2 separate regions of the Homo sapiens genome follow, and region 1 is linked to region 2. The links are contacts of gene promoters, found by promoter capture Hi-C in blood cells and fetal thymus (Javierre and others, 2016). All regions are on one chromosome and are shown on one strand. The core of a region is centred on a gene start or on the middle of the fragment in contact, and the rest is flanking DNA. Distances in the headings are between cores, read along the strand shown.

What was found. Contacts are between HindIII fragments. The CHiCAGO score rates a contact against its expected background, and 5 or more counts as called.
Region 1: a contact is called between a fragment that was not itself captured here and the fragment with the promoter of PAX8-AS1 in region 2, in 2 of 17 cell types (M2 macrophages and M0 macrophages). The highest score is 5.3, in M2 macrophages.

The regions. Positions count from the first base shown.
Region 1 is chr2:113,101,279-113,106,652 of GRCh38, reverse strand. It overlaps a transcript of IL1RN not described here. Among named protein-coding and RNA genes, the nearest start is that of IL1RN, 24 kb to the left of the region's middle. The HindIII fragment of the contact is 5,174 bases long and covers 327-5,374 here.
Region 2 is chr2:113,233,505-113,238,423 of GRCh38, reverse strand. PAX8-AS1 (PAX8 antisense RNA 1) reads right to left here and starts at 2,155. Exons shown (of 6, transcript NR_015377.2): 1 at 1,802-2,155. PAX8 (paired box 8) reads left to right here. Exons shown (of 12, transcript NM_003466.4): 8 at 1,703-1,823; 9 at 2,842-3,030. RefSeq lists a silencer at 2,739-2,818 and an enhancer at 3,069-3,258. The HindIII fragment of the contact is 8,895 bases long and covers 1-4,919 here.

The DNA.
Region 1 (5,374 bases), core at 1,664-4,163, 130 kb after region 2:
CCACTTAGTGATAGCCTCAAAACTCTCAAAAAAAGGAAAGGAAAGAGAGGCCACATTAAGTTATTTATAATATTGACCCTCTAACACAAAATTTAACAATTAGCTCTTTGCTAGGACAGGTAAACACAAGCAATAATTAAACATTTTGGTTAAAGCAGTTATTATAGAACAATGTTGCTTAACCTGAGAGCATTTTGTGGATACACTTCAGGGGATCTATCAACCCATTTAAATTTTATGTACTAATTCATTTTGAGGATAAGAATGCATATCTCAAAATAATTTATAATCTTAAAAAGGTCAAGAATTACTGCCTGGGGAAAGCTTCAAAAATAAAAATAAGTTATTATTTTGTATCTTTATTCACTATCCCTTTGCTGTTCTTGTTCCTTATTCATTCCCTTGTTTAGCCTCTAAGAAAGACCCTTTGCTTATTTTATCACTGATTTTGGAGTCATACAAATTGGAAAGAAAAATACTAAATTCCAGTGAAGAAGTGAGCAAAGGAAATTGTGCAAAAAGTAGAATTTAGACAGAAAATAAAAATACAGAAAATGCTTAACTTTCATCAATAACAAGGGATTAATAGTTAAAATAAGCCATTAACAACTAATGAATTAGCAGAAAATAGGAAAAGCCCATTTTCCAACATTGGTGAGATGGCTATGAAATGGGATGCCAGCAATAGGCTCTTGTTCCAACTCTTCCAGAAGGTGATTGAGTGACATGTATCAAAAGTCATGAAAAGATTACTCATCTTTTGATCAACTAATTTCATTTCAGGGAACATTACAATATAAAATAATTCAAAGAATAAAAACCACATGATTATTTCAACATAGTTAAAAATAGCAAAACATTAGAGGTAACCTCAATGTGTTAAAAGGAAAATTAACTAATAATGCTACATTTATAGACAATTATACAGTTGTTTGAAATGCTTAATTTTGAATATGGGGTAGTAAACATGAAAAGTGCTTATAACACACTGTTAATGTCATCTCACCCAACTGGGGGATCAAAAAAGGGAAGAAGATTTCTGAGCTGCACAGTTCTCAGAAGAGATGGAACTCGGATGTCACTTTCTCCCAATTATAAAAAAGTTCTGAGCAGAAGGTTGTGCCTCATGATTGGATGACCATATTGTTTGAGTGGCAAACTGTGAAGCCTGTAACTACATATATAGAGTTTACATTTCTAATCAATTCTCACCTAAAATTTACCCTGATACATCTTTAATGAGTGACATAATGATTACTGAGCAGGATGATAAGTAAGCCCAAACATTTGTGTTGTCATGAGAGATGATATATAATCACCATGGCCCTAGTACTCAGCTGGAAATGTTAGGGTTTTCTTTTCACAGAATCTTCAGTCATTAGCTAGGCTAGCAGTAGCCCCTGACGTCATAAGCTCCTGACTCATCGTGTTCATCAGTCTAGTACTCACTCTTTCCAAACATGTCCACCATCTTCATGCCTTTCTATATATGTTCTCCCTCTACCCACAATGCGCTTCTAGCCAGAAACTCATCCACCCCTGAGCCCAGCTACGAGGCTACCTCCTCTGAAAGATCTCCTCCGTGCATTCCTCTATTGGTGTTACAACTTCCTTTCAGGGTTCCCATGTCTTTGTTTTTATATCTACATCACTACACTGTGTTATGGTAATTTGTGATTCCATCTGTTTTCCCACTGGGACTGGGAGTTTCTCAAAATCAGAACTATGTTTTAATTCATGGCAAAATAAATCAGATGTGGGATTTGGAGTTGGATAAACCTGGTTTTAAATTTCAGCTGGACCACTTACTAGCTACATGACCTTGCCCAAGTTACTGGGCCTTTCTGACCTTCTGTTTCTTATCAGTCCCATTATCAGTATAATGGGACTCAAAAAGAACCTGTCTCATAAAGCTCTTTGGCACACACTAAGTGCCCAATAAATGTTAGCCATGTACTCAGGCTTGTGGGCTACTGGGGTAAAGCAAGACCAAAGTCTTTGACTACTTGCTCAGCACCATACATAGAAACTAAAGGGAGGTGTTGAAATCCCAAAACGCCCCAGCTGCCTGAGCCAACAAGACTCCAACTCCAAGTCATCAGTTACTTTTCCGTCTCCTGGGAGCACTCAGACACTGCGGAAATCCCTTTGCATACCTTTTGCCCCCACCATGAGAAGGCCCAGGAATAGACATGTGGGGGCAGGAGGAGTCAGATTCTCTACCCACTACCCAGCCTTTCATCCCTCCCCTCACTGGGCCAACAGTCAGTGAGTCACTGCTAACATCCCCCAGAACACCCACTAGTCTTAGAGCTGGTGACTTCATGCTGTGAAGAAATTTTCCTCTGAGAAGCATCTCCTCCAGGTTACCAAAGATTCACTCCTCTCCAAGTACCATTGCCCTGAACTTTATTTACCTCTAACCTTTCAAAGTGACCAGCTAACACTGACAATACCTCTGCCTCACTTTGCATGTTACTAAGACTCCAGACATTTCTCAGGAACTCTCTTGACTTCCTTCCTCAGTGCTTCAGTAGAACCATAGTACCATGTAATGATGAAAATCACTCTGTCTAGTCTTAGTCACATCTCTTAACCCCTGGCCACTTACATGGGATGCTTAACTGAGAAAATTTGGTTTAAGAAAAAAAAAAAACACCCCTTGATGCCATAAAAATTAAATAAAATAACTTGGTGAAAGAACTAAAAACCTTGTAGGTACTCAACACATATTGAATATTACCTACTTTCTCCCTTTCAAAATATTGTTGCTCCTTCCTTTCTTTCTTTGAAGTCTGAGCTTTTGATGGACAGTTCCCCAATAATATTCATATGACACCCAGAATGTCCCAAACAGAATCCATCACCTTCCCACCCCACCCTCTGCTCTCCCCAACCATCTTTCTTCTGATTGCTGTATTTCTGTTGATAACACAACCCTTCTTGTATTAGTTTCCCATTGCTGCTATAACAAATTACCATAAACTTTGTGCCTTAAAACACAAATTTATCCTCTTACAGTTCTATAGGGCAGAAGTCTGACAGAGGTGACACTGGGCTCAAATCAAGGTGTCAGCACTGCTGTGATCTTTCTGGACTCTGGGGGAGAATCCATTTCCGAATCATTGCTAGCTGCTAGAGGCCACCCACATTCCTTGCCTCATGGCGGCATCACTCCAACCTCTCCGTTTATCAGCACATCTCCTTTGCAATTCAATCTCCTGTGTCCCTATTTTGAGAACGCTTGTTCTTACATTGGACACAACTGGATACTCCAGGAGAGTCTTTCTATCTTGAGATCCTTAGTTTAATCCCACCTGCAAAATCCTTTTTTCTATGTTAGGTAACACTTTAATTGACTCTAGACAGTAGGACACAGATGTCTTTGAGGGCCATAATACTACCTACTGCACTTCTTTCAGACTCCCAGGCCTGTGATATCAGGACCACCTGTGACTCCTCCACCTCCATTCCAATCCCATCTCCCCTCACAGGATGGAGTGATAGCACCAGGCCATGTGCCCACTCTGATCTACTGATACAGGCTGCCTGAACTATGATGCTGAGGACTGTGAAGTTGTGTCTTTGATTCCAAGAAAGTATTGTCCGATCAAGTAGTCATGTCTGCCGTGGGCATGGGATGTCAGGTCAGCATGAGTACTTTGCACCTCTATCCCAGCTCCTTCTGTGCCTTGTCAGGCCTCTGAGCCCAAGCTAAGCCAATGTATGCCCTGTGACCTGCACATATACATCCAGATGGCCTGAAGCAAGTGAAGAATCACAAAAGAAGTGAAAATGGCCAGTTCCTGCCTTAACTGATGACATTCCACCATTGTGATTTATTCCTGCCCCACCTTAACTGAGCGATTAACCTTGTGAAATTCCTTTTCCTGGCTCAGAACCTCCCCCACTGAGCACCTTGTGACCCCCACGCCTGCCCAAAGAGAGAAACCCCCTTTGACTGTAATTTTCCACTACCTACCCAAATCCTATAAAACCTCCCCACCCCATCTCCCTTCGCTGACTCTCTTTCAGACTCAGCCCACCTGCACCCAGGTGAAATAAACAGCCTTGTTGCTCACACAAAGCCTGTTTGGTGGTCTTTTCACACAGACGCACGTGACACGCCTGACCTCTCCTTCCCATGCCTACAGGCTTCCCCCTTCCCCAATTAGAGCTGCTTGTCCAAACCATTGCAATAGCTCTGTGTGAACTGAATCCCTCCACAATCCACATATCAAAGTCCTAACTCCCAGTGTGGCTGTATTTGAAGATAGAGCCTATAAGAAAGTAATTGAGGTTAAATAAGGGTGGGGCCCTAACACAATAGAATTGGTGTCCTTATAAGAAGAGGTAGAGACACCAGAGAGCTCTCACTGTCCCCGTGCCTGCACAGACACCAAGGAAAGGCCACAGTGAGAAGGTAGCTGTCTGCCAGCCAGCAAGTGGATGATCTGAGACTTGATCACAGCCTCCAGAACTGGGAGCAAATACATTCTTCCTGTTGGTTAAGCCACCCAGCCTGTGGTATTTTGTTATGGCAGTCTGAGGTGACTAAGACAATCTCCTTAAGAAAAAAAGTCTCGGGCGGGGCACGGTGGCTCACACCTGTAATCCCAGCACTTTGGGAGACCGAGGTGGGCAGATCACCTGAGTTCGGGAGTTCGAGACCAGCCTGACCAACATGGAGAAACCCTGTCTCTACTAAAAATACAAAATTAGCCGGGTGTGATAACGCACACCTGTAATCCCAGCTACTTGGGAGGCTGAGGCAGGAGAATCACTTGAACTGGGGAGGTGGAGGTTGCAGTGAGCCAAGATCACGCCATTGCACTCCAGCCTGGGTAACAAGAGAGAAACTCCATCTCAAAAAATAAAAATAAAAAAAGAATAAAAAAGTCTCTCTTCCCCAGCTCCAATCTGCCTTCTATGCTACTGCCAGATCTTTCAGAGCGGTGGTTTCTACATGTTGGTCCTTAGACCAGTGCCAGTTTTAATGATGAGCTAAATTAAATTAGAAAATCGAGAGCCCAGGGCTTGATATTTAAATATGTTGGGATGCTATTGTTAACTCTTCATTCTTGAGAAAGGCAGTCCTTTCTTCTGAGATCATGCTCACTGAGTGGAGAGGAAATGTAAAAATGGCCTTTCTTTTATGAAATAGTGGCTATAGTAGGTGCAACTTGTTATTTTTATTAATGTTCTTGTAAAAATTATAAGTTGTTTTCCCAAGTTTTTAAAAAGATTACAGGTATGAGATATTAAAATATCATTGAATGTCGGTTTTACATCACAGCTGTAATCACATCAGGCCTCCTGCTCCCAATCTTAAAATGTGAATGCCTCTTCCCACAGGTGGAAGGAAACCCCCTCG
Region 2 (4,919 bases), core at 906-3,405:
TCTTATACGCTCTAGAAATTAGGTATTTTGTTCAATTTCAATAAGACACACCCTGGCCAGGTGCAACGGCTCATGCCTGTAATCCCAACACTTTGGGAGGTCAAGCCAGGCAGATCATGAGGTCAGGAGTTTAAGACTAGCCTGGCCAACATGGTGAAACTCCTGTCTCTACTAAAGATACAAAAAATTAGCCTGGCATGGTAGCACGCACCTGTAATCCCTGCTACTCGGGAGGCTGAGGCAGGGGAATCACTTGAACCCAGGAAGCAGAGGTTGCAGTAAGCGAAGATCGCACCATTGCACTCCAGCTTGGGCAACAAGAGCAAAACTCCGTCTACAAAAAAAAAAAAAAAAAAAGGCCCTAAGCAACTCCACCCTGCCTCTAAGTGGGCCCCCTTGGAAGGCATGGAACCAGAGCACCATTTAGTCAATAATTGCTGCTATGTGCTAATGGTGCCCTGGTGGCCTCCAGAATTGACTGCAGCTTCCAAAAGTGCCCAGCATGCAACCGGAAAGTGCTGTGGATCTTTGCAGAACCCAGCTCGATGGAAATCACTGAAAACAATTGCCTTTAGTGGCACTGTTATGTAACTACTGAGCATTCCCTGAATTCAGCTTTGCACATCTCACGTAGCAGGTATGTGACGAGTGTGAAGGTATGTGGGGAATGGGTGTGTTCTTTTTTCTGCGCTATCTGCTTCCCCAGTGGAAGGAGGCCATGGTGAGGATGAGGTACACTTACCTTTAGTTAAACAAGTTCTTTTCGGAAGGAGTACCTAAGGTCATAGCTGTGCTCCTGGGAAGGGGAGGCCAGGAGGCATCTAAAATGAGGTCTTACTGATGAAGACCCCCAGGTACTTGACAAAGAGTGTTTCCAACAAAAACAACTCTCAATACCATTTTCAAGCCGAACTTGCACACTTCTATTTGTTTGGATGTGGAGAGAGAAAAGAAGAAATCCACGTGGTGGGTAAAGCACCTGGGTCCACAGCCGAAAAATCCCGGGTTTAGTCTGTTTCACTATACAAAATTGGGCCATTTACCTGAGTTCCAGGCTCCACATATAAAACACAGACATAATATTACTCACCCATGTCACTGGGCTGCTGGGGGACTCTACTAGGACAACAGAGGCAAAGCTCTGATATAAGCTCTTTGCAAATGTAAGAAGTGGTCCTTATGTCACCCAGTTTAGGGCAGTGGTTGAGAGCAGACACATTCTGATCCCTCGAATCTGAATCCTATCTTTGGCCCATCTGGAAGTGGGACAAGTTTCTTAAACCTTTGTGCCTGGGTTTCCTATCTGGGGAAGAATAAATTAACAGATGCAAGGACCCTGAACAGTCCGGTTGGAGACTGCTCCAGTCCTTGGCACCGTCCTGCATTCTGTGGGTCCCAACAGTGTGGTGAAACCAGGAAGCCGACCAGCCATCCAACCAGGGTGTGGTCCTCTGGCTGAGACTCTCTATCCCACGTCTGGGCACCCATGCTACCAGCTGGCCTTGAATTCCAGGGATGCGGGAGGACAATGAGCATGAACGAAACGTGCCGAGTGGAGTTGAGAACGTAAAGGAAGAAGGGGGCGATGAGGACCTCTCCTGGGGAGATGAGGGCTGCCAAGTCCTAAGACACAGGCTCAGGGTCTGCAGGAAGGTCGGCTTGTTGGATCGTCTCTGTGCGCTGACTTCTCTTTGCTCCCCAGGGCCTCTACCCGCTGCCCTTGCTCAACAGCACCCTGGACGACGGGAAGGCCACCCTGACCCCTTCCAACACGCCACTGGGGCGCAACCTCTCGACTCACCAGACCTACCCCGTGGTGGCAGGTACAACGCCCGGAGCCTCCCTGGCAGGTGGAGGGCGGGGGACTGAAGAGCTTGGCTGGCTGTCAGGCGGAAGGTGTGGGGCCCTGGCCTGGAGAGGAGAGGCGGGCTGTGCCGGCCGGGCCGCCAGGTGGGCCCAGGGGTCGCGCCTCCGGTCCTAGGCCGGGCCTCAAGGTGGGCCGAGGGGTCGCGCCTCCAGTCCTAGGCCGGGCCTCAAGGTGGGCCCAGGGGTCGCGCCTCCGGTCCTAGGCCGGGCCTCAAGGTGGGCCGAGGGGTCGCGCCTCCAGTCCTAGGCCGGGCCTCAAGGTGGGCCGAGGGGTCGCGCCTCCGGTCCTAGGCCGGGCCTCAAGCTGGGCCGAGGGGTCGCGCCTCCGGCCCTAGGCGGCTCCCGTAAGGTGGGCCGAGGGGTCGCGCCTCCAGTCCTAGGCCGGGCCTCAAGGTGGGCCCAGGGGTCGCGCCTCCGGTCCTAGGCCGGGCCTCAAGGTGGGCCGAGGGGTCGCGCCTCCGGTCCTAGGCGGCTCCCGCAAGGTGGGCCGAGGGGTCGCGCCTCCGGTCCTAGGCCGGGCCTCAAGCTGGGCCGAGGGGTCGCGCCTCCGGTCCTAGGCGGCTCCCGCAAGGTGGGCCGAGGGGTCGCGCCTCCAGTCCTAGGCCGGGCCTCAAGGTGGGCCCAGGGGTCGCGCCTCCGGTCCTAGGCCGGGCCTCAAGGTGGGCCGAGGGGTCGCGCCTCCGGTCCTAGGCCGCTCCCGGGTCTCCGCGCTCCCTCCTGTGGGAGAGGCGGGCGCACACACGCCTTCCGGGTCTCTCCATTTTCGCTGCAGAAGCGCAGCAGGGAGGTCTAGCTTCTCTCTCCCCGCCTTGCCACGCCTCGTGGGCCCCGGCTCTCCCCAGCCCAGACTCTGAGGGCAGCTGAGCCTGCCCCGCGCCCCGCCCGCACCCTCCACATCCCACGGCTTGGCTTGTGCGTGTTCCCTCCCCGCCATCTCACACCCCTCTCTCCTTGTTGTCTCCCTCCCTCCGGCAGATCCTCACTCACCCTTCGCCATAAAGCAGGAAACCCCCGAGGTGTCCAGTTCTAGCTCCACCCCTTCCTCTTTATCTAGCTCCGCCTTTTTGGATCTGCAGCAAGTCGGCTCCGGGGTCCCGCCCTTCAATGCCTTTCCCCATGCTGCCTCCGTGTACGGGCAGTTCACGGGCCAGGCCCTCCTCTCAGGTACGACAGGGAGGTCCCGGGGCCATGCAGCTATGGCGGCGGGTGGGACGGGGGTCCTCAGGGCAGACCGCCAGCCCCCTCTCTGGCCTCAGTCTCATCCACCCCCACCCTGTTCCCTAATTCCTCCGGCAACTTTTGGAGGCGCCAACATGAAGTTCTCTGTGACGGGGAAGACATGCTCGGAAGGGGCGGATGCTGTAGGGGTGCCGGGGATGCACCACCCCAAGACCCCATGGAAAAGCAGGAACCCTAAGGCCGGGAGCCGGGTGCTGTAACGTAGCAACTTGGCCTTGGTAAATGCATAAATAGATAGAAGGAAAAATGAACATTTTGGAGGGAAAAAGGAATTGGCTTTTGGAGCCCATTTCTGGATCAAATTTCTAAAAAGGCCAAGGGTCAGTCCCAGTTGTGTTTCCATGATGCAGCTATCTTCATTCCTAGCTTAACAGCATCACCGGGAGGACAGTCAGACATCTGTTAAACATGATAAATTCAGTGATTCAACAACTTGAGAGGAGTGGGGGACCTCCCATCAGGAACCTCAACTGCCTCAAAATATTTAAAGCTGGAAGCACCGACCGGGCGAGGTGGCTCACCCCTGTAATTCCAGCAGTTTGGGAGGCCGAGGCAGGTGGATCACAAGGTCAAGAGTTCAAGACCAGCCTGGCCAAGATGATGAAACCCCATCTCTACTAAAATTCAAAAAATTAGGGGGTGTGGTGGCAGACACCTGTAATCCCAGCTACTGGGGAGGCCGAGGCAGGAGAATCGCTTGAACCCAGGAGGCATAGGTTGCAGTGAGCTGAGGTGGCGCCATGGCACTCCAGCCTGGGTGACAGAGCAAGACTCCATCTCAAAAAAGAAAAAAACAAATAAATAAAAATAAGTAAATCTGGAAGCACCTGAGGGAGCCTCTAGATCAAACCTCTTATGCTGATGAGGAACCTGGCCCAGGGAGGAGAAGGTCCCTGCCAAGGTCTCTGGGCAGGAGCACCATCTGTAGCTGGTTGAGGCCTGGGCCTGCACTGCATGAGTCAGACCTCAAGGGGAGCTGGCTCCTCCTGGCAGAAGGACCTTCGCTCATCCAGCCAGGGCCTGAGGAATGGCTGAGAGTCAAGCGCTTGGCTTGGGTTGGAGAGGGCCTGAGATGCAGTGAAAGTGGGAAGCAGAGACCCATATGGTCTTCAGATACCTCAAGGGCTTCCACAGGGATAGGACTATTTTAGATGTGGGCCCAGTGGGGGCCCAGGACCAGGGAAGGAAGCCAGCTAGCTCTCAGTTCAGCATTGGAGGAATCTCTTTAATAGCGGCACTGTCTCCAAGGAGTGTGGGTATTTAGTGACAGAAGTAAATGCCTCTTCACCTCCCACACCCTCCTACCCCGACGACCTTGAAATGCTGGAGCAGAGACCAGTGCGTGGGTGGGGTGTGTGAGACCTGTCACAGAGGCAGCCCAGAGTCAGACAGTCCATCTGGACCAGTGGTTTCAAATTTGGGCCTCTCAATGCTCTCTTGAAATGAAGCCTTTTACAGAAGACATGTATGCTCACCAGACCCCTGAAGAACTGCTCTTTTAGAAGGGGTCCCTGCCCCTAGAAAGCCCTTGGACTTCGAAACCACTGCACCAGAGGATTAAGACCTCTACAAGCCCAGAGTAACCACAGGGTCATGTGATAAAAGTCCCTGGACCCTTTTTTTTTTGTTTTTTTGTTTTTTGAGATGGAATCTCACTCTGTTGCCCAGGTTGGAGTGCAGTGGCGCGATCTCAGCTCACTGCAACCTCCACCTCCTGGGTTCAAGTGATTCTCCTGCCTCAGCCTCCCGAGTAGCTAGAACTACAAATGGGCGCCACTACACCCGGCTAATTTTTGTATTTTCAGTAGAGATGG